2 separate regions of the Homo sapiens genome follow, and region 2 is linked to region 1. Evidence: promoter capture Hi-C in human tissues and cell types (Jung and others, 2019). All regions are on one chromosome and are shown on one strand. The core of a region is centred on a gene start or on the middle of the fragment in contact, and the rest is flanking DNA. Distances in the headings are between cores, read along the strand shown.

The links. The method cuts DNA at HindIII sites, captures the fragments that hold promoters and counts their contacts. A contact is called where the count stands out against the background at its distance.
Region 2: a contact is called between a fragment that was not itself captured here and the fragment with the promoter of ZNF354C in region 1, in 2 of the 25 tissues and cell types used here (bladder and pancreas).

The regions. Positions count from the first base shown.
Region 1 is chr5:179,056,728-179,062,632 of GRCh38, reverse strand. It overlaps ZNF354C (zinc finger protein 354C), which reads right to left and starts at 2,260. Exons shown (of 5, transcript NM_014594.3): 1 at 1,967-2,260; 2 at 538-618. The coding sequence starts at 564. RefSeq lists an enhancer at 1,406-1,941. The HindIII fragment of the contact is 19,620 bases long and covers 1-5,905 here.
Region 2 is chr5:178,963,421-178,969,325 of GRCh38, reverse strand. ZNF454 (zinc finger protein 454) reads right to left here. Exons shown (of 5, transcript NM_001178089.3): 5 at 2,893-4,671. The coding sequence ends at 3,353. Among named protein-coding and RNA genes, the nearest start is that of ZNF454, 25 kb to the right of the region's middle. The HindIII fragment of the contact is 3,078 bases long and covers 2,088-5,165 here.

The DNA of each region.
Region 1 (5,905 bases), core at 1,011-3,510:
TCCAGTATAAACTCAGAATGCCCCCACTTCTGGGATATTTCCCCTGAACATTTAATCATGTTTCCTAAGATCGATACCACGAACTCCCAGAAGATGGAAATGACAGCTTTCCTCTTTCCATCCCGTGTGCTGCACAGGATCCTGTACATAGGGCTCAATAAATGCTTGTGGAGGCTGTCTTCCGGCCCTTCCACATCTTAGCCCCAAGTGTGACTATATCCTCTATGAAGACAGAGACTGCTTCATGCCCCATTCTCCCCACCCAGCACCAGTGTAGTGGGAAGCATATGCTCAGAACTGCCTCAAATGTGGATCACAGAGTGAGCGGGGTGAATTAAGAGTAGTCTCGGGACAAAAGAGGCACATTCCTCAGCAGCCCCTTGCTAAGCCCAAGACACTGGGAAAAACTTTTGAGGTTCCGGATTCTTCATCGTTTTGGTTGGACCAAAAAGTACCTGGACAAAGTCTGGAAACATGTCTACCATCTCTGAATCCAGAAGCCAACTGATGAAAAAGACAACCTTCACTCACTCTCACCTGAGCAGACAGCAGATCCACAGCCATCCCTTCCTCCTCAGTCTTCCTGCCCAGGGAGAGCAGAGTGTGGACACGGTGGGTCTGCAGAGGAAAAAGGTGTCAAGAGGAACCCTGGCGTCAGGAGATGGCTTGGAGAGAGGAAGTTACAACCGCCCATAATGTCCATCAGGTCTCAAAAAAGCCACCCCCCGTAATGATGTAAAGCAAGAAGAGTGTTTACTAGTTTACTAGGGCAATGTGCCAACCCTACTTCTATTTCTGCACTTGGACTCTTTAACTTCCACCTTCGGGCCTCTCAGCTACCTCTAGGCAAACCGTGACTCCCCCATGGATGTCTGGAGTCCTTCGCTAGCTTTGAACTGCACACCTAAAAGTCGCAATGAATATCCAGTCTCCTGGGGCGCCACTTCCCAGCCTAGCTAGCTGATCCTCATCCTGCCTGCCCTGCCTCACCCTTTCCTCCCTATGGTAGCCACGATAAAGAGGCTTCCCCGCATCCCTACCCTGGTGACAGACCCCACTGCTCGCCCTGAGTGGTCCTTCCGTGGAGTGCTGTGTTCTCCCCAAGAAACTGTGAGCATAATCCAACCACTCAGCTTTCCCAGCCTCTTTACTAGATCTTCGTCGGGCCTTACCACACTTTACCCAAGGTAACAGGATTAAGGCACTGTCCCCACCCAAAGCCAGAGCTTTGCTGTCCCTCCTAATACTCCACAGGTGCCGCCTCTAATGGCACCCACAACCAGAAACAGCCGTCGCTGCCCAAACACCAACCCCAGGTGGGAGAGGTGGAAACCGTGCCCGCCCCACAGAAAGCAAGGGAAGAGGCTGCCTGGGGCAGCCGGGCAAGTGTGAGGGCCTCCAGGCCCGCGATCTGCAGCGGCGACTCAGGGTGCCCCCTAGCATGGAGCCAACCTGGGGCTCTGCCAGGCCAGTTCCAGCGGGTGCCTCGACCAGCCCAGGGGAAGCTGCCACACAAGGCCTCGGTTACGCGACGAAGCGCACCTCCTCCCAGGAAGCGGTGAGTGTTTTCCACGCAGTATTTTCAATCTTCACATTTACAGATGTTACGGAGACTGAAAACCAGGAGGTCGTGACCTGCCCAAAGTCATAAGGGCCGGGAAGGCAATCCTGATCCTAGCCCCAGGCCCCAGTTACATCTGGGGCAATGACCTCGCCACTCTGCCTCGGTCTCCTCCTGACAGAGCGGGAACAGCGTACCGCCACCCTATCTGTTAGCAGGGATGCGCGGAGTTCGTTCGGGCGATGCGCTAGTCTGGTGCCTGGCACCCGAGCGCTCTCGGCGGGCATCAGCTATTGCTTTTATTATTTCCGTTACTCAGAAGAAAATGCACAGAAGAAAATCGCAGAATGAACAACGACAAAAGGCTGGCATCCCCACCCCAGCGGCCCGGCGCACCCAGCTCACCTGGCGAGGCGCTCCCTCCCGCGGGTCTCCGGCAGTCCAGGCCGCTCGCGGACGGCGCCCCGGGACCCAGTGGCCAAGGGGCCCGAGCCGCGTAGGGCTGGTCCCAGAAGCCCAGACGAGGCTGCACGCCGCCCACTCGCTGGAGAGGCCCGGATCCACCCCGGCCCGGAAGAGACCACTGCGAGCGCCTCAACCCCAGGCCGGCAATCCTAGCCAAGCCTGGATGGCCCAAGCCAGGAGAACCCCCGAAAGGCCGCGAGCTGTCCCCGAAACCCCGCCAACCGCGGGAGAACTACCACTCCCGGCATGCCTCCGGCCCCACGCCGACTACACTTCCCAGGGGACGCCGCGGTGCGCGCTGCGAACTCCGGGAGAGGAACCGCCTCCGCCAACGAGAGCTCTCAAAGGCGACAGTGCGCGGAGGGGCTGCAGTGCGAGGGAGTACGCACGCCGCACACGAGGCAGGAGGTCTCCAGCTGCTGGCCGTGCTGCCTACAGCCCGCGCACTTGTTAAGCAAGCGGAGTAGTTTGAAAAAACAAAACCGGAAATTAGATTCATTTAGGAGGATCAGTGTGCTGTAGCTCCCACCGCTGGTTGTGATTACTTTTCTGTTGATACAAAATAATTTACATAATGTATAGGGTCCATGTGAGTGCTTGTTACGTGCATAGACTGTAATGATCATCAAGTCACAGTATTTGGGGTATCCATCACCTTAAGCATTTATCATTTTTATGCGTTGGTATCATTTCAAGCCCTCTCTTCGATTTACTTTGAAATATACACAATATTATTGCCAAGTATAGTCACCCTAGTCTGCTATTAAATATTAGAAATTATTTCTTCCATCTAACTGTATGTTTGTACCCATAACCAACCTCTCTTCATTCCCCTTCCTTTCTGGCCTTCCTGGCCTTTGGTATCTATCCTCCTGTTGTCTATGTCCATGAGATCAAGTGTTTTAACTCCCGAATATAAGTGAGAACATGCAGTACTTGTCTTTCTGTGCCTGGCTTATTTCACTTAACATAATGACCTTCGGCTCCATCCATGTTGCTGTGAATACATTATTTCATTCATTTTTATGGCAGAATAGTATTCCATTGTGTCTATGTATGACATTTTCTTTACCCATTCATCTATTGCTGGTAGGTTGAGTCTATATCTTGGCTACTGCAAATAGTGCAGTGACAAACGTGAGTGCAGGTATCCTTTTCATATACTGATTTCTCTCCCTTTACCAGTAGTAGGGTTGCTGGATTGTATGGTAGTTCCATTTTTAGTTTTTTGAGAAACCTCCACACTGTTTTCCATAGTGGCTGTACTAATTTACATTCCCACCAATAGTGTATAAGAGTTCCCTTTTCCCCAAATCCTCACTGGCATCTGTCATTTTTTTGTCTTTATAATAATAATCATTCTAACTGGAGTGAGCTTATATCTAATTAGAAAGTGTTAGTAACCAAAAGAGCATGATATTTGTATAAAAATAGACACACACACCCCCCCATGGAACAGAATAAGAGAACCCAGAAATCAGTGCACCCATTTACAGCCAACTGATTTTCAACAAAGGTGCCAAGAACACACAATGAGGAAAGGACTACGTCTTTAATAAATGGTTCTGGGGAAAACTGGATAATAATATGCAGAAGAATGAACTTGGACCCCTTCTCTCTCAACATATATAAAAGTCAACTCCAGATAGATTAAAGATTTAAAGACTCCAAACTATAAAACTGATAGAAGGAAACATCGGGACAACTCTTCAGGACATTGATCTAGGCAAAGATTTTTCTTTTTCTTGCCTGTGCTTTTGAGGTCTGTGGCTAAGACCTCAAAAGCACAGGCAACAAAAAGAAAAATAAACAACTATATTAATCTAAAAAGTGTCTGCACAGCAAAAGAAACAACAGAGTGAAGCAACAACTTGAGAGAAAATATTTATAAATTACTCATCCAACAAAGGACTAATACCCAGTATATACAAAGAATTCAAATAACAGGTTTGTGACCAGCCAGGCCAATGTGGCGAAACCCCGTCTCTACTAAAAATGCAAAAATAGCCAGGCGTGGTGGTGCATGCCTGAAACCCCAGCTACTTGGGAGGCTGAAGCAGGAGAATTCCTTGAACCTGGGAGGTGGAGGTTGCAGTGAGCTCAGATCATGCCACTGCACTCCAGCCTGGGTGACAGAGCGAGATGCCATCTCAAAGAAAAAACAAAACAAAAAAAACCACAACAGTATACAAAGAGTCCCATTAAAAATGGGCAAAGGGCTGGGCACAATGACTCATGCCTGTAATCCCGGCACTTTGGGAGGCGGAAGTGGATGGATCACTCGTGCCCAGGGGTTCCAGAGCAGCCTCAGCAACATAGTGAGACCTTGTCTTTACAAAAAATAAACGAAATTAGCCAGGCATGCCAGTGCAGGCCTGTAGTCCCAGCTACTCAGGAGGCTGAGCGCAGAGGATTGCTTGAACCCAGAGGTTGAGGCTGCAGTGAGCAAAAATAGCACCACTGCACTCCAGCCAGGGTGACAGAGTGAGACCCTGCCTCAAAAAAAAAAAAAAAAAAAAAAATAGGCAAAGGACCTGAATAGACATTTCTCAAAAAGACATTCAAATGGCCAACAGGTATATGAAAAATGTTCAACATTACTAATCATCAGAGAAATGCAAATCAAAACCACAAGATAGTTATGTTATTTTAAATTCTTTTAATGTGTACCATACACAGGAGATAATGTATTCATAGGCACAGATTTTTGTTTTTATTTATTTATTTATTTATTTATTTTGAGATGGAGTCTCACTCTGTCGCCAGGCTGGAGTACAGTGGCGCGACCTTGGCTCACTGCAACCTCTACCTCCTAGGTTCAAGCAGTCTCCTGCCTCAGCCTCCTGAGTAGCTGGGACTACAGGCACGTACCACCATGCCCAGCTAATTTTTGTATTTTTAGTAGAGATGGGGTTTCACCATGTTGATCAGGATGGTCTTGATCTCTTGACCTCGTGATCTGCCCACCTCAGCCTCCCAAAGTGCTGGGATTAGAGGCATGAGCCACTGTGCGAGGCCCATGGTTTAATAATAATAAAACAAATACCCACATACCCAACACTTGGGTTACCAAAGAGAAATTTACCCAAAATTTGGAAGCCTTGTTCACAGTGCTCCCAAGTCATTTTCCTGAGTTGCTTTCAGCATTCCTTTGTTTTGTTTGATAATTACTCCACATGCATGTGTCCCTAAACATTGTTTACTTTTGCAACATTTTAAATCTTTATAAAAAGACAACCTGCTATATACATACAATATACAATATGTATGTATATAAAGGTAATCTGCTATATACATACAATATACAATTGTATAGTTTCAATTGTACATTGTATTCAACTTTTATACAATATACAATATGTATGTATATAGCAGATACCCTTTATATAAAGATTTCTGCATATATATGTGTATATGCCTATATGTGTATATATGTATATATATCATGTGTATATACATGCATATATGTATCATGTGTATATATGTGTTCAACACAAACACTTTTAGATTAGTCTACCTTGATACATGCAAAGTTCATTCCTTTTCATTACTGTATAGGATTTCATTATTGATTCATTCAGCAACAACAAAAATTATGTTGAACACTTATCCTGTGCCTAGCATTGTGCCAGATTCTGGAAATACACCAGTGGGCAAAACTGGCAAAACCTGTGCACAAATGCAGCTTGAATTTTACTGGAAGAGAGAGAGGAAAGATAATAAGAGGAATAAATACGTTTTGAGATAGAGATGAGTGTGAAGGCAACCAAAATAATTCACTCCAAAACATACTTCCCTGACATATCTTGAGATGGCTATTCAGAGAGCTTGCAGACAGGAATAGTCCTGAAAAGCTGTCTTTTGTAGAGGAGACTTGCA
Region 2 (5,905 bases), core at 2,377-4,876, 95 kb after region 1:
TAGAGAAGACTGTGGCTGAAAAAGTCTTACTGCAGGGTCCTCAGAAATGTACTTTTAGGGGTTGAGCTGGGGCAGGTGAGAATGCCCAGGTAGAGAGCAGTATCATCCACGTGAGAAAAGTATGCCTGGGACTCAGGCAGTGTCCCCTCCCCTAGTCGAGAAGGCCGTGCAGTGAGCTCGTCATCCTACAGTGTAATACAGTAAAGCCACTGCCTGGCCAAGTACTAGTACCATCAATATATTCAAGTCAGCCTGGGCGTATCTAATAGGCCAGTGACGTACTTTTTGCCTTTCCAGACAGGGATGAGTGAACAGGCATCTCGGAGGACTGATTTCATGAAAACCCAAGCCTGATGAGAGGCGAACTCAGGGAGAGTGCACTGTCTTCTCAGATGGGGGCCTTCAGCCTGCACTTAATGCCGCTGACGCTAGTTCCTGGAGCCGCGGCTGAGGTGAATGAGACTCAAGTGGCTGCACGCCTTGGTCCTGGCTCAACGGTAGGCACATACCAAGTAGTGGTAGTTCTCATGCGTTCATTACAGATAGACAAAACCACCAACCAACTCAGCTTAGAAACGTGCTTCTCAGGGATTCAAGGTAAGGGGGTGGTAGTTAAGACCTGGCACATTACATGGATGGGGTGAAGACAGACATCTGTAGCAGTGAACGTGGTTTTTTCAGGTTTACTCTGGAATCTGAGGGTGTCAGCTGCGTGAAGCTGCAGATGAACTTCTGAGGACATGGGACACAAGCAATCCCAAGAAACCTCTTGAAATACTGCTTCACATGCAGCTTAATAGGGAAGAAAGTCTGAGTTGCTGATCAGCTAACAGGAGATGCTGGCCCACAAAGGTGGCCTTTATTAGATGAAGGCTGAATTTAGATTACTTGGACTTTGAAGCTGCTGGAAGCTTCCAAGTCTATGTTGCAACCCAGAGCCCACTGAGTTCTACCATGATATAGAATATCCTCTTCTGTAACATGGGGGTGAGGTGCTCCATTCTGAGGGGTCAGGGGGTTGCTCAACTTGACGGACAGCACTTCCACATACCAGGAACTTGCCACTTCACTTTCCAGAAAAATTTGCTTGGCCTCCCATCTTCACTGCATGATATATTCCAGCTTGCAGTAGTGAAGGCTCCTCCATTCCTTGTGGTAGGAAAAGGGAGAGGGCCCTCAGAGGCTGTGTGTGTGTGTGTGTGTGTGTGTGTGTGTGTGTGATGCACAGATGTTACTTATCTGTGTGATTTCTACTGAAAGCACTGAAGGATTAAAGACGGGGAAGGTGGCCGGGTGCGGTGGCTCATGCCTGTAATCCCAGCACCTGGGGAGGCCGAGGTGGGCGGATCACAAGGTCAGGAGTTTGAGACCAGCCTGGCCAACATAGTGAAACCCCAACTCTACTAAAAATACAAAAAATTAGCTGGGCATGGTAGTGGGTGCCTGTAGACCTAGCTACTCGGGAGGCTGAGGCAGGAGAATCACTTGAACCCAGGAGGTGGAAGTTACAGTGAGCCGAGATCACACCACTGCACTCCAGCCTGGGCGACAGTGCAAGACTCTGTCTCAAAAAAAAAAAAAAAGAAAAAGAAAAAGAAAAAAAAAAAACAGGGTAAAGGAACCATACTTGCAGGACGACTGTACCACTCAAACTTTTGAACACGGACATGGCCCTTGCCAGAGAATATCAATGGTGCTAGTGACCACTTCTTGACTCATGGAATTACTCAACATTTTTCTCACCACTGTCAGCATGAGTCTTTAAATAGTGGAAGGCCCAGATGGAGGAGAGGAAATGACCACTTCCAAATGCAAAAGCAGAAATTCAAAGCTGTCTGCTTTCCTATGAATATAGAATTACTACCTCCAGAAACCTAGAAAAAGCAGGGGAAGGACCAGGATGCAGCAGTTTATCCTGGGAGTAGTAAATGTACTCTAATGCAGTGGACACAGTGGACTGTACAGCCAGGGGAAGAGAGTGGGTCAGAGCATTCTGAGAACTGGCCTTGGGGCTTTCACCTCTTATATCAATTGCACATAGAGAAATGGGCAGCGACAGATGGAGGTGACTGGGAATAGTACAACGTAAGTGGGTGGGATCATTGCACCTGAAGCTGAGCAAGTCCCTGACTGATGTGTAGAGTCACTAAGTACAGAACAATTGGAGGGTAAAGGCGGCACAGGCAAAGCCCCTCCTTCAGGTGCCATCCCAGGATCAGTCAAGCTGAAGCCCAGAGGAAATGCATAACTCAAGAATTTTGATCAAGTTGTGCCTTCTGGACAGAGATACCAAGTTCTGAAGGCTGGATTTGGGTGTGATATTCAACATCATGGACTGTGTCTGAGACCAGACCACCACACTCCCCATAGGGGCAGTGATAGGTGGCACCATGCAGACAGTTAGGCGTTGCTAAGTCAGAAGAGGGTCATTTGGGGCAAATGAATCGTCTCACAGGGATTCTACAGGGATGAAGCCAGCAGACAGACCAGAGAGATCTGACAATGGATGGTTTGAAGCAAAAGGCAGGAAGCATGGTTTAAATAAGTGTGGGTGACGTACTTTCTCTACACTGGGTGTCGGTGGTGTGGGTGAGGAGAGGACTAAGGCTTCCATTAAAGCTGGCAACTCTCTTATGTAAGAGAATCTAGTAGAGTGCAACGCTCGTAGGCCATTTTACCTTTTTGTTCCTTTGCTTTTCAGCTTTAATTTTTACAATTTCAGTTTCTCTAATAGTCAAAATGTAATTTGATAAACCAATTTTTTAATGCTGTTAATGAAGCTCCATTTTGGTTCTGATGCTTGGTAATTCAGACAAATCAAACAGTACTGCTATTTGAGGCAGTATTAAAGAATGAGGAGTGTTTGCCATTCTTTTTTTTTTTTTTTTTTTTGAGACTGAGTCTTGCTCTGTCGCCCAGGCTGGAGTGCAGTGGCACGATCTCGGCTCACTGCAACCTCTGCCTCCCGGGTTCATGCCATTCTCCTGCCTCAGCCTCCCGAGTAGCTGGGACTACAGGCGCCCACCACCATGCCCGGGTAATTTTTTATATTTTTAGTAGCGATGGGGTTTCACCCTGTTAGCCAGGATGGTCTCGATCTCCTGACCTCGTGATCCGCCCACCTCGGCCTCCCAAAGTGCTCCCAAAGATTACAGACGTGAGCCACTGTGCCCAGCCGAGTGTTTGCCATTCTTAAATGCCCAAACCCCATGACACTGTGAAACCTGACCCTCAGTAAATAAAGTGACTATCTTGATGCAAGCTTTCATAGTTATTCTCTAGAACGGATTATCTCACATTCAATAATTCATCTACTCAGTCTCAAAGGTCTTCCATACAAACTGCATTCATATCACTTCTCTCCAATATGATGTCTCTGATGCTGAATGAGGTTTGCAGTCTGGTTAAAAGCTTTCCCACATTTATTACATTTATAGGGTTTCTCTCCTGTGTGAATCCTCTGATGTTGAGTCAGGTGAGTGCTTCGGATAAAGGCTTTCTCACAGATTTTACATTTGTAAGGTTTTTCCCTAGTATGAATTCTCTTATGTTGGGTAAGGGCTGAATGGTCACTGAAGGCTTTTTCACATATGTTACATGTATAAGGTTTTTCCCCAGTATGAATTCTCTGATGTTGGGCTAGTGCTGATTGGTCCCGAAAGGCTTTCTCACACAAGCCACATCTGTAAGGTTTCTCTCCAGTGTGAATTTTCCGATGTCGTGCAAAGGATGAATTATCCCTGAAAGCTTTCCCACATTCATTACATTTATAAGGTTTCTCTCCAGTATGAATTCTCTGATGTTCAGTAAGGGAAGAGTTCACCCTGAAGGCCTTCCCACATTCATTACATTCAAAGGGTTTCTCTCCAGTGTGAATTCTCTGATGCTGAAGGAAACTTGTACTCTGATTAAAGGCTTTTCCACATTCATTGCATTTATAGGGTTTCTCTCCACTGTGGATATTCTGGTGTTTGGTAAGGTGTGCCCTGCACACAAAGGCTTTTTCACAAATGTTACATTTAAAAGGTTTCTCTCCAGTATGTATTCTATGATGATGGGCAAGGTGTATATTTCGGATAAAAGCTTTTCCACATAAGTTGCATTCAAAAGGCTTCTCTCCAGTATGAATTTTCTGATGGTACGTAAGTGAGGAGCTCACTGAGAAGGCCTTGCCACATTCCTTACATTCATAGGGTTTCTCGCCAGTGTGAATTCTTTGGTGATGGATAAGGTGCGTACTCTGGTGAAAGGCTTTCCCACATTCTCTACATTCATATCTTTTCTCCTTAATATGAATTTTCTGATTTGCATTTTTTTCATTATGAATTTTCTGATGTTTATTAAGAGTTGAACTCTTAGAGAAGACTTTTCCACACTCACTACACTCAAAGGCATTTTTGCTAGGTTGAAATCCCTGACTTTGATCACTGTGAAGAGATGAGCTCATAGTGCTCCCGGATTCATCACATTCCTGTGATGGGGTGTTGGGGTGAGTGAGTACCACTCGCTGCAAACTGATCTCCTGGCCTCCACATTGCCACTCCAGCAGGCTAGCACACTTCCAGTGACTACTGCTACTGAATCTTTCCTTTATTGTCCATTGATCCAATTCTTCTTCAGGAATCTCTGCCTTGACAGTAGATTTCTTACTGGCAGGCATAGTCATCCAGTCTGAAAGACATTAAAAATAAAAATGTCTGTTTTACCCTAGCAAAACATTTGGATGGGGCAAGATGACGAGCCTCTTCATAATGCTAACAGAAAGATTTCAAGTTTGAAGATTTTCTGAAGTAACAACAAGAAAGGACAGAAAAGAGGGGTGAACAGAGGACTACAGCAGGGGTTGATCTCATGTATAATGTATGAGGCAGGAGAGCTTGGAAGCATGATCTTAGAAGTCACAGGTGGCTGGGCGTTGTGGCTCACACCTGTAATCCCAGCACTTTGGGAGGCCAAGGCGGGTGGATCACGAGGTCAGGAGATCGAGACCATCCTGGCTAACACGGTGAAACCCCGTCTCTACTAAAAATGCAAAAAATTAGCCGGGCGTGGTGGTGGGAGCCTGTAGTCCCAGCTACTCAGGAGGCTGAGGCAGGAGAATGGTGTGAACCCGGGAGGCGGAGCTTGCAGTGAGCCGAGATCGCGCCACTGCATTCCAGCCTGGGTGACAGAGTGAGACTCCGTCTCAAAAAAAAAAAAAGTCACAGGCCTGGGTTAGAATTGAGTACAACACATATTTTCTTTGTGATAATAGAGAAGTTATCTGATTTTCTAAGCCTCAAAAAAAAGAAAAACCTGATAAAGACCACATGATGCTAACAGACAAGAAGAAAAGTACCCTGTCGATTCAAATGAGATGATTTTTAAAGCCAGCCAGATGTGGCCTAAAGAAACTGCTGAAAATAGTAGTCGACACTTGGTAGGAAAAACCTTGACTCTAGAGTGAATACTAAAATCAAGATATAGGCTCATTTGAGCATTCAGATGAATAATAAAAAGCTAGGCCGCTGTACAGGCTGTGTGAAATGCTCATATCTACTAAAAAAATAAGGACCTCCTATTGCTTGTGAGGAAGCAATGTCTCCAAACCCATATGAATAATGTGACACCCATGGGAGGGAAATGTGCCATGAGATATTTTGTGGCAAAGTTATCTCAGGATAAACGCTGCAGCTGCAAGCACTGCCGGCAAGTATTCTCAGGGCAAACAGGAGAGGGCCTAAAATGTAAAACTAAGGGCTAGATTCCAAACACAGACGATGCAGAATTCACGAGAAATCCCATCAAGAACAAGCCATCCTTATTACCTCCTTTTCCCACTCGCTGCAGAAAATCTTCTACAAAAAGGCACTCCTGGTATCATTTTAGAATCAAAGAAACAAACCTCTTTACTTACTAGGAAAAG